3 separate regions of the Homo sapiens genome follow, and regions 1 and 3 are each linked to region 2. The links are contacts of gene promoters, found by promoter capture Hi-C in human tissues and cell types (Jung and others, 2019). All regions are on one chromosome and are shown on one strand. The core of a region is centred on a gene start or on the middle of the fragment in contact, and the rest is flanking DNA. Distances in the headings are between cores, read along the strand shown. Region 1 overlaps IQCH (IQ motif containing H). Region 2 holds the start of SKOR1 (SKI family transcriptional corepressor 1). Region 3 overlaps IQCH (IQ motif containing H).

The links. The method cuts DNA at HindIII sites, captures the fragments that hold promoters and counts their contacts. A contact is called where the count stands out against the background at its distance.
Region 1: a fragment that was not itself captured here is called in contact with the fragment with the promoter of SKOR1 in region 2 in 1 of the 25 tissues and cell types used here (spleen).
Region 3: a contact is called between a fragment that was not itself captured here and the fragment with the promoter of SKOR1 in region 2, in 1 of the 25 tissues and cell types used here (lymphoblastoid cells).

Annotation. Positions count from the first base shown.
Region 1 is chr15:67,334,956-67,338,806 of GRCh38, reverse strand. It overlaps IQCH (IQ motif containing H), which reads right to left. Exons shown (of 21, transcript NM_001031715.3): 5 at 1,712-1,832. Among named protein-coding and RNA genes, the nearest start is that of IQCH, 82 kb to the right of the region's middle. The HindIII fragment of the contact is 3,489 bases long and covers 468-3,851 here.
Region 2 is chr15:67,824,226-67,827,911 of GRCh38, reverse strand. SKOR1 (SKI family transcriptional corepressor 1) reads right to left here and starts at 2,403. Exons shown (of 9, transcript NM_001365915.1): 1 at 2,203-2,403; 2 at 1-1,976. The coding sequence starts at 2,309. It overlaps LOC124903570, which reads right to left. Exons shown (of 4, transcript XM_047433429.1): 3 at 2,510-3,273; 4 at 2,328-2,399. The coding sequence ends at 2,328. RefSeq lists enhancers at 1-496, 497-1,135. The HindIII fragment of the contact is 30,837 bases long and covers 1-3,686 here.
Region 3 is chr15:67,363,594-67,367,363 of GRCh38, reverse strand. The region is part of intron 8 of IQCH (IQ motif containing H); the gene reads right to left. Among named protein-coding and RNA genes, the nearest start is that of IQCH, 110 kb to the right of the region's middle. The HindIII fragment of the contact is 3,882 bases long and covers 503-3,770 here.

The sequences.
Region 1 (3,851 bases), core at 963-3,462, 490 kb after region 2:
AGTTCAGAGTTTCTTCTAAGATCAGAGAGCAATTTGCCTCAAGTCACAGAGCCAAACTGAAATTTGGTCTATGTAATGTAAAACTTGTATTCTTAACCATTTGGAGGGGTGGGGCAAAGCTTTCTTTTTTGGATTTAGCCAGGTATTCAAGAAAAAGTAGGAAAGTTTGAAGTTCATTTTTCAAAATGATTCTCTCTTCTGCATGTTATTAGTCTTTCACCTCATTCTGGACCTGTGTAGATCTGGGGTGAGGCTAAAACAACATTTAAGGGCATCAGAAACACCTAAAAAAATATAGACACTGTATTTATATTTCTGTGGCTTGTGGCTTCCTGACATTCATAGTATCTTGCACAATACCAGACATATTGCAAGTACTCAATAAATATATGCCGATTAATTTATTAATCCCTAATATGACAGTAGGCCATGTGTTCTCATGAAGATAATTTAGAAATGAAAATGTGATTTTTTTTCTGGATGAAGTTGCCAAAATTCTACATTTACTTTTATTTTGTGGCATTTTTTTATTGTCTCTATTGCTAAAGCAGAGCAGACAGATAGATAGATAGATAGATAGATAGATAGATAGATAGATAGACAGACAGATATATCGATTCATTCATTCATTCACTATTTCATTCATCCTAATTTGGTTCAGGAAGAATATAAGATGGTATTAAAGCAAGAAATGGGAACACTCTGCTGGTGTTATTCAGTATTCCCAGGAAGTAAATATTACATAAGCTAACTAGAAAGCATATGTCACAAAGATTGCTGAACAATGGTTTATAACCAGGAAAGTTGTGAGAAGCTTAACAAATCCAGAGATTTATAATGATCTCAGGTTATCTACCACCAGCAGACAGAAGATGCAGTAGCTAGAAGCTGGAGGACTTTGAATTTCCAGGTGGCAGAAGAACCTTTGGGAACCAGCTTTGGGTCCTAAAAATTCCAGACAACAGATAGAAGGCGAGATAAGGAATAATTAAAGACCGTCTCACTAAGTTATATTTGAGATAGGAAAGGGATCCACTTAGGCATTTTTTAACACTTTGGTCAATTAAATTAAATAGCAGGGAACAGTAGAGATGGTTACACTTAGGACATTCAGTATTTGGTCACTCGCTTGCTTATTCTTTCATTTTCTTATTCACTCAATCTACACTTAGTATCTACAAAATGCTGGATATGGTTCTAGGTGCTAGAGATACTGAGATAAAGATGAAATCCTTTGCTTAAAAACAAAATCCACTGGTTTCACAAGACTAGAGTTTAGACTAAAACATGCATAGTTTAAACACTAATTACATTAATTCTGGCTTCATATTTCCTTATAATAGGGTATTGAAATAAATTTTTAAAATGCTACCAGAATAATATATCAAAAATGATCTGCTCAGAAACTTAATAAATTCTAATGCTATCACATAAACACAATGATCATTTTAATAGGTAATAACACCATCTAAATCAATATTAAATCCATAGAATGATGAATTTTACAGGTGGAAGGGACTCTAGTGATCGTCTTGTCCAACCTTTTAATTTACAGAGCAGGAAACTCAGACCAGAGTGAGGACCTGACTTGTCTGAGGCCACCCAGGAGAATTAGTGGCTGAGCCAGAGTCCAAATTCAGGCCTCCGATCCTACCTCAATGCTCTTTCTTTTCCGTTCCTAAACACGTAAAATGGCTATTGAATCACTAACCTTTGTGGGCATCTGCTTGTAAGACTGGTATAGGAGTGAAATAGGGATCTGTGCAATGAGAAGATGGCAGAACCGTGAGGCTGGATATGTTAGACCCTTTGATTAACTTCGAAACCTTTATCTAGATAATAAAAAATTTGTTTCAGCAAACATTTTTGCCTTCACAGTGAACAGTTTTCTTCTTGTAAACAATAAATAAAGTTATGAATAGTTGCATTAAGTTTTAATAAAGTAGCAATATCAGCTCCAATTTTATTGCTCATGAATACCCTGTGCTATTGTCTACTACCATCAGGAGTTTGTGTAATTTAAAATAGTTAATTAAATCCAATTAACAAGTTGTGATTTCCACTATATAAAGTCAACATAGTAGTTAATAAAAGAACTATTAAGATTTTGTTCAATTTTAATGACTACAATATACAAATGCTAAATCTTGACAGAGGAGGTTTTGAATACAGCAAAGTTTTGTACCAAAAAATTTCCCAGGAAATAAATGTTAGAGTGTTAATGTTAAAACAAAAAACCTGGAAGACTTAAAAGATAAACATGTCAATCAATATTAATTCTGGGTAGATTCTTTTGCAGATCTCAGAGATGGTTACAAAGACACAATATCTAGATCAGTTAGAGAAGATAATTACTTTTCCTAAAGTCATAAAATGCTTTTATTACAGTTACAAAATATGAATTGTTTCTATTAAATGGTTTCTAGATTTTAAAGATTACATATATTGCATATAAATCACATTTGATTGTATAGTCCAACTATACTATTTTTACCTTTATCGTAGGAGTTTATGAATTACCTGGGTTCTCTCAGCAGGGAAAATGCAACTTTGGTATTTATAGTTTGGTATTTATAGACTGAATTTTCAAGTCATTTTCCAAACATTAATTAATTTACATAACTTCCAAGGGAACTAGGTAACAGTTTGCTATTTAACTAATAAAGAACTCAAGACAGAAAGATTAGAAATTTGTTTCAGGCCATGCAGTATACTAGATATGCACAGATTATTCAATTCTGAAATTAATCTGATTTTACATTGGTAAAATTTGCCATTGGACTCGGTTGCACAATACCTTATTGCCATTAAGGTCATAGTGACTTTAAGGAAAAAGAAAGGGAAAGCTTCATCAAGACCAGAGGGAGAAAATCACTTTACAAAATAAGTATCTATTAGCTGAGAAATGTCTGGACAAAGGGTTAGGGCCCCCACTGCCAGGATGTGGTAACACCATGAACATCAAACACTTTGATGATGTTTGGTAAATAAATAAAAATAGTATTTTGAATAGGAAAGAGTAGACTGTTAGTGCAATCTGTTTCTCCCCAGGTGAGTCAGAAGGGGAAAGGGAGGTGCTACCAGCCTCGCCTTAATGAGAGTGCAGGACTCATAAGAAGATTTATTTATTATGAGACTCTGGTCTTCCTGATCCACATTGGTTTCTTGCCCTTATCCTCAGCTCTCCTCTCCCCACCTCATCTCCAGACATGAGTAGCTTCCAGGATCTCCTCCTAATCAGTAAGGCTGAGATATCCAATGCACTGTGCTCTAGCAGGCATGTACATAGCTGAGAATATTCAATATCAAAAGCGGCAGGGTCTCCACTTGTCTGATTGATATAAAGGTCAGTGAGACAAAGGTAAATCGGAGGAAGAGAGAAAGATTCAACTTAAATAAAACTGTCAAGCACTGTGATGATGTAAAATATAGGTTTGGCAGTTTCAGGACAAAGAGGATAATTTATCCGGATTTTCTCAAAGCCTTTGACAAAGAACACCTGACAACCTGCTCTGACAAGCTAAAGTAGCAGGATCGAACATAAAACACAACATAAAGGATGACACAAAGGAGAGGACAGTAGGCAAGTGATGTTCAGACTCTGTCAGGCAATCAGCACATTCATCACACTGCTTTAATTCTTTCAATTGCATCAATCTAAACAATGTAAAAACCAGACCGAAGAACTATGCTGAAAAGGCAGTGAGGTGACTGTGTGTGTAGTGTGTGTGTGTGCACGTGTGTGTGTGTGTATGTGTTGGAGAATGGAAGGTGGTGTTTTCGTTGACAGAAATAAATCCCTCAGATAGTGTCACTGGATAGGAAACATCTGTCCACTCTGCTGTCCTCTT
Region 2 (3,686 bases), core at 1,154-3,653:
TGGGCTGTTCACCGTCTGGGCCGCCCCCTGCGCTGGGTGCGCTGGGCTCGGTCTCCTCTTGGGCGTCCTCGTCGTCGGGGAAGCGGTTGGATTCCACGTCCACCTCGGGCTCGTCCGCGGTGTCCACGTCGGGCGAGGCGGAATTGTAGCTGGAGCTGCCCTCGCTCAGAAAGTCCGGGCTCACGTAGCCGCCGCTCCCAGCGCCGGGTCCCGGCCCCCGAGCAGGCCCCGCGCCGTACGCCTCCCGGGCGCTCCCGTAGAGCTTAGCGATGCTCTCGGTGTCCTTGACCACCGGCCGGAAGGCCGACACGTAGGAGCCTTTGCGTGCGGGCGGCGGGGGCGGCGGGGGCAACGGGGCCAGGGGCGGTGGCAGCGCCTCGTCCGTGCCGTCTTCGTCCAGGGGCCCGCGGGACAGAGCGCTCGGGCAGCGCTCCTCCGCGCCGAGGCCACTCTCTTTGGCTGGCTCGGCACCGTCCAGGGGCTCTGGGGCACCGCTGCCAGCAGCTGCCGCTGCCGCCGCCGCTGCCGCCGCCACGGCTGCCGCCACGGCCTTGGCTTGGCTCTGAGCAGCGGGGTAGGACGGTACCGGGAGGCTGCCTGCTGCTGGCCAGAACATGGGAAACGTCGGGTACACAGTGGCGGCGGCGGCCGCTGCAGCCACTGCCGCTGCGTCCTTGGCTGCCCCGGAGGGTTGATGCCCCCAGAACATGGCGCCGCCGCCCGGGCCCGCCCCTGCCCCCGGGGGCAAGTGGCTGGCTCCCGGGCCCCCCGCACCCCCGCCTGTCCCCGCGCCGCCGCCGCCGCTCCCAGTGCCAGGACCGCCCTTTGGCTCGCCCGCGCCTAAAACCGGGTCGTCCTTTTTGGGGCATAGGCCGAAGGCCGTAGGGAAGCCGTAAGGATGGGGGAAAAGTGGTGGGGGCAGCTTTTGCAGGAGCCCAAAGCCTTTGCTGGGCACCGGGATCACCGGGTAGCTTCGTACGCCGGCGCCGCCACCGGGCCCTCCTGGGCCCGCCGGGCCACTAGCTCCAGTCGCCAGGCCAAGTCCGCGCTGCGGGTGGGGTGGAGGTGGCCCCGGAGGCCCGGCAGCCTCATCTTCGCCACAGCGCAGGCTTTTGTGGGGCGGCGGGCCTGGGGCCATCTCTGCACCGCACCCTGGGCCACCGCCGCCACCGCCGCCAGCACCACCCTTCCCCTGCCCACCCGACCCGCCATTGGCACCGCCTCCGCCGCCTCCTTGTAGGGAGAAGGTCCGCTTGCGCGTGCCGCCATTAAACATGGCCTTGACGTCCTCCCAAGCATGGCTCAGTTCGTCTGTGGCCGACTTGTCACTGAGTTTGAGGTGACGACGCCAGGAGTTGAAGTTGGCGGCATCGGGCTGCGTGTACTTGGCGTCGGGTGTTCGGTGCGAGTGGAAGATGAACTTGTTGGGCGAGAAGTACATGCTGCAGTAGCCGCACTTGATGCACTTGGCACGAGAGCTGTTGTAACGCGCAGGGATGAAGCTACCACGCGAGCCCCACGCGCACTCGTGCACCACATCGAAGGCGAAGTTCTCGGGCAGCTTGGGTGGTTTGTGCTCGCCCAGGAACGACTTGCACAGGCGTTCGGCCTCTCGCTTAGTGATCATGCCGCAGCGGCGCGACGAGATGGGCATGGCCCCGGCCCGACGCAGAATCTCCAGCTGTACCGGCGTGCACTGCACGCACGTGATGCCCAGGGCCACGCGGCGGTTGTGGATCTCATTATAGCTGTAGTTCTTGAGGAGGGTGTTGGAGATCTGCGCCAGGCATAGGCGCTCCTGGCCGTCGATGACCAGCGACACAATGGGCACCCCGTACAGCGACGTCTCGCCCACCTGGTTGGGTTTGAGAGCGCTGGAGCCCGAGTACGGCTGCAGCTCCTGCTTGGAGTTGGGCGAGGAACTGCCCTCGCGCCCCGGCCCCAGCTGAGTGGTGAGAGCCTCCATGCCGCCGCTCCTGCGAAATAGAGAAAGCAGAGAGCAGATGAGCCATTTTCAGCGCCGCCGCCGAGGCTCGGGCCCGCCCAGCAGGGCGCTCCGAGTTGGGCGCGCGGGGGATACTTGGCAGTGGGGAGTCCAAACTCATTCACCCCCTGGACAGGCGTCTTTTGTTACTCAGACCCATGTTGGCGCCGTTAACAACAGCCCCCGGGGCTTGGGGGAGGAGAAGGGGTAAAGGAGACCTCAGGAATGCCCGGGCTGCAAGGAACCCAATCCCGTTTTCGGATTGGGAAGGAAGTGAAACCCAGATACGCAGAGTGACTTGCCCAAGGCCACACAGCAAAGCCATTGCCAAATCCTGGCTTTTTCAGCGCCCAGATCCGTGCGCCTTCGGCAACCCTCGCAGCCGGTGCTGCCGGCCCGGGTCCTGAAGCCCGGACTTCGGGGATCGGCCGCCCCTCTGCTCAGTCGCGCATGCACGCGGGCGGGCGGGGGCAGTGCAAGGAGGGGTGGGGAGGGGGGAGGGGCGGTCACTGCCCATCTCCAGACAGCAGGGGGTAGAGGGGGGTGAAGAGAAGGAGGGGGGTGAGGAGAAGGAGGAGGGAACCGTGTCTGCCAGGGAAGGAGAGAGGCGGAGGCTACCGCTGTTCGCGGTGCTGAACCTGACCCTCTCCAAAGCGCTCGGTGCGCACCCGGACCTAGCGCGGCCCCCACCGCACCCAGCTTGGTGCCCGAGCCGGCTTCAGGGGACAACATTGCCAGTTTCCACAAACCCGAGCTTCTCCTCTCACGGCTGGCGCCCGCGTTCGTTGAGCAGAAAGATTTCGGCTGGATATATAAACCGTTTTCTTTCCAGCTATTAGTGAGACCAGGATCCTGCAGTTCTAACCACATTTTCTGCATTTTTAGCTGTATTCCAGACCAAAGCTGGTTTCCACCGAGGTCAACGTGTGGGACAGAGAGGTTCTCAAGGAACTTTGTTGGGATCCACTTCTTAGCTTCCAGTCGCCCACTCCTTGAGCTTTCCTCCTTCAGATATACGTTTCCCACTCGGGCCAACTGCAGGATTCGGGGCTCTGGGCTTCCTCTTTGAGGGGCATCACCTCTCTGAGTATCCTTCATGCCTCGCTGTCCCGGCTCATATGGGCTAGAAGGAATCTCAGCCATCTTCGTAGCCATTGCAAGGCTCCAGGCACACAAGTTGCTGCTGGTCCTTGCACTTTGCTTTCTGGCTGAGGCAGGGAGGGAGCTGTGCAGGCAGACCTCAGCAGCGGGGGTACTTGGGGACTGATGTTTGGGGCCCTCTAGGTCGCCTGACCCAGCCACATGTCCTCAGACAAGCCAGGCTCCCATCCGGCCCAAGGCTGCAGGCGCTCCTGCGGCCAGGGCAGCCCAACCCTGAGGGCTCCTCCCCTGCAGTCGGCCCTGAATGTAACTCCGTTTTCAGAGGGGCAGCTCCAGACAGGGGATCCCAGTTCAAAAGCCTTCAGCAAGGAGACTGGAATCTTCTGTTTATCTGTCTCTCTCCCTTCTTCTCTATTTGTCTAGGAGACCCTCATTTGTCGATCTTATCTGTCCCTGAGCTGTCTCTGCCGGCTCGTTCCTCTTTCTCTCATCTGTTTTGTACCTTCTTCAAGTATCAAGCTATTTATGTATTATCTGTCTGTTTCATCTTTATCTCCGAGGATCGAACTAAAATAAGTTGACCCTTATTTCGCGTTGAAGT
Region 3 (3,770 bases), core at 1,194-3,693, 460 kb after region 2:
GGGTCTCACTATCTTGCCCAAGCTGGTCTTGAACTCCTGGCCTCAAGCGATCCACCCACCCCAGCCTCCCAAAGTGTTGGGGTTACAGGCATGACCCACTGCACTCAGCTCATTTTTTCTTATTTGACAGGCTGGAAAGCAATTTGTCAAACTAATTCCTATCACTGTGCTAATGAACATAACATAGTGTGGTGTATCAGAAGCAACAAGACCCAGAATCTAGTCTGTTACCACCTTCCTCTGTGGCCTTGGGAAGCCACTTCTGTGGGTTTCAGTTTCCATTAAGAGATCACTCAGGGCACTTCTAATTTTGATACCCTACGCCTCTCTGACTTAATGTGTCACCCCTGCAGGGGTATTGGCTTTTTAATAAACTTCTGGAGCCAGTAAAGCCATCAAATCAAAGGCAACTATCTCCAATGGCATCACTTTATGCACCATGAAAAAAACCTGGGGGATTTTTTTCGTATTCTATTTTTCAGATAGAAAACTCTTTCTAGTAACTCTGAAATCAAAATAGATGAACGACTGCCCACACCACCTAATGGTAAAGGTGGTCATGGGGAGAGAACCCCAAAGAGTAGTGTTCCAGTATTCTGGGGCCTGCAAGTCAATGGCTCTCAGTTCATAATATCTAGAAACTGTCTAAGTAATCCTTAAGTGCCAATTAAAAGTGGAAGTCAGAGTCCTTAACCTTTACAAAGAGAATAAAAGGCAAAAACAGAACTCATCGAGCAGAGATATATAAAAGAAGAGACTTGAGCGTAAAGGCCACTCAGATCAGCAGCAATTTTCTAGGAATAATTTCTGCAATTGCTTTGAAAGGTATCTTTATTCAAATGAGTCTTCCTGAACTCTGAAACACTTCCTGAGGAGAAAAATCCCCATCCTTTGATGCATTCTCATGGAACAAAAACACACGATGGATCAAAATCTGGTTGAAGATCAAACAGAATAGAATCAAGAAGATTTTGTAAATAGATGGTCTATTTTCAGTCAAATGTGAAATTTCCTTCTAGAGACACATTTCATTTTACTGCTGCATTGATTTCATCTTTTCTGTTATACCTCTAATATTCTCTGAGAAAATGTGACATAGTTAAGGACCACTGGGGACAATTATGATGGATGGGTTGAACCTGCTGGGGATGTGGACAGGAAGCCTGACAGGATGGGAATCAAAAGCAGCCTGGATTCCCAGATCTCTGAGCAAAGACACATCATAATTTTCTCTACACGTATGGGAAAAAGAGCAAGCCTCAAAAAGGACTGCTATTATCACCAAAGTAAAGCTTGACATTCCATGTTTCCTGAGAAAAATGTGGATCTAGTACGTTCCTTGATCCAAATCACTAAAGAACACTTGCAAAATTCCTACAGAGCTCCACCTTGTCATATTCTCTATACCTACATATGTATTCTTTTTTTGTTTTTGAGACAGAGTCTTCCTCTGCTGCCCAGGCTAGTGTGCAGTGGTGCAATCTCAGCTCACTGCAACCTCCACCTCCCAGGTTCAAGTGATTCTCCTGCCTCAGCTTCCTGAGCAGCCAGGATTACAGGCACGCGCCACCACACCCGGCTAACTTTTATATTTTTAGTAGAGATAGGGTTTCACCATGTTGTCCAGGCTGGTCTTGAACTCCTGACCTCAAGTGATCTGCATGCCATGACCTCCCAAAGTGCTGGGATTACAGGCGTGAGCCACCGTGCGTGGCTTCTATACCTACATATGTATTCTGGTTTATTTTTCTTCATAGCACTTATCTCACTCTTTGATATTATATTAAATATCTGATTATTGCCTCTCTCACTAAAATATAAACCCCAAGAGGACAAGGACTAGGTTTGCTTCATTCATTGTTGTGTCCCCAGTGCCTATCTAGTACACTGCCTGGCACACGGTAAAGGTCAAAAAGGATTAGTTGAATGAATGAATGTATGAAAGTGTGAATACTAAAATTTAAGCTTATAGCCAGTTGGACTGGGTTCACAGCACAAAGCTGTTCTATGATCATACAAGTTATTTGCAAACTTATAGCTTGAGTTTTGGAGCACTAATGCAAAGTTTGGCTACTGAGATACAAAAATGTCCATACCCTTTGATCAAGAAGTTCCACAGGCTAGGTGTGGTGGCTCATGCCTATAATCCCAGCACTTTGGGAGGTCAAGGCAGGCAGATCACTTGAGTCCACGAGTTCCAGACCAGCCTGGGCAACATGGTAAAACCCCATCTCGACAAAGAAATGCCAGAAAAATTAGCTGGGCGTGGTGGCATATGCCTGTAGTCCCAGCTACTCAGGACTGTGAGGTGGGAGGACTGCTTGAGCCCCGGCAGGTCAAGGCTGCAGTGAGCCACAATCGTGCCACTGCACTGCAGACTAGGTGACAGAGAGAGACCGCATCTCAAAACAAGAACAAAAACAATTATTTATTAATAATGTAACATTTATAATTTAATGTCAAGCAATAGGATGAAAATTATGGTATATCTTTAATAAAGATATTATAAAGCCACTAAAAATGTTTTATGAATTTTAAATCATATATGTAAAGGTTTATGATAAACTATTAGATGAAAAGAGTAAAACCAGAGTTGAATATACAGTATAATACCAATAAAAGAATATGCCAAAGTTTAAATAGTACCAAAGGATTGTGATATGGGGAAAAAAATCCTTCTATACTTTTTTTCTCTTTTCTGAATTTTCCAAATTTTCTATGAATGATCAGGTCACAATTGATCAATGAAAGAGATAAAGTGAAAAAATACAGATTATCTTGTTGGCTGATAATTTAACCTTTTTTCTGTTGTATATAAGCAAAATTATTAATCACATGTAATAAAAATGTTCAGTTAGACAATGCTATGAAAAGTAGTAAAAACAGTCCTTGTAGTTTTTCTCGGTAATTACAAGAAAAATTGTTCCACAAGAATTTCAAAAAAATTGTTTGGCAAATAAAACTATATAATTTCAATTCATTTGGAAAGTTTAATGATGAAAACGCATAGGTGAGGATGGCAATTTCTAATGAATTAGAGAAAATGGTAACTCTTTTTAAAAGATTCTACATGCAAATCAAAACCACAATGAGATACCATCTCATACCAGTCAGAATGACTATTATAAAAAGGTCAAAAAATAACAGATGCTGGTGAGGTTGCAGAGAAAAGGGAATGCTTATACACTGCCAGTGGGAATGTAAATTAGTTCAGCCATTATAGAAAGCAGTTTAGTGACTTCTCAAAGAACTTAAAACAGAATTACCACTCGACCCAGCAATCCCCTTATTGGGTATATACCCAAAGGACTATAAATCATTCTACCATAAAGACACATGCATGTGTTATGTTCACTGCAGCACTATTCACAATAGCAAAGACATGGAATCAACCTAAATTACCATCAATAGTAGACTGGATAAAGACAATGTGGTACATATATACCATGGAATACTATGCAGCCATGGAAAAGAAAGAGGTCATGTTATTTGAAGCAACATGGATAGAGCTGGAGGCTATTATCCTAAGCAAAATAACACAGGAACAGAAAACCAAATACTGCATGTTCTCACTTATAAGTAGGAGCTAAACATTGAGTACACATGGACACAAAGAAGGGAATGACACAGGGGCCTACTTGAGGGTGGAGGGTAGGAAGAGGGTGAGGATCCAAAAATGAGCTATTGGGTACTATGCTTATTACCTGGGTGATGAAATAATCTGTACACCAAATCCCCATGACACACAGCTTATTAATACCTATGTAACA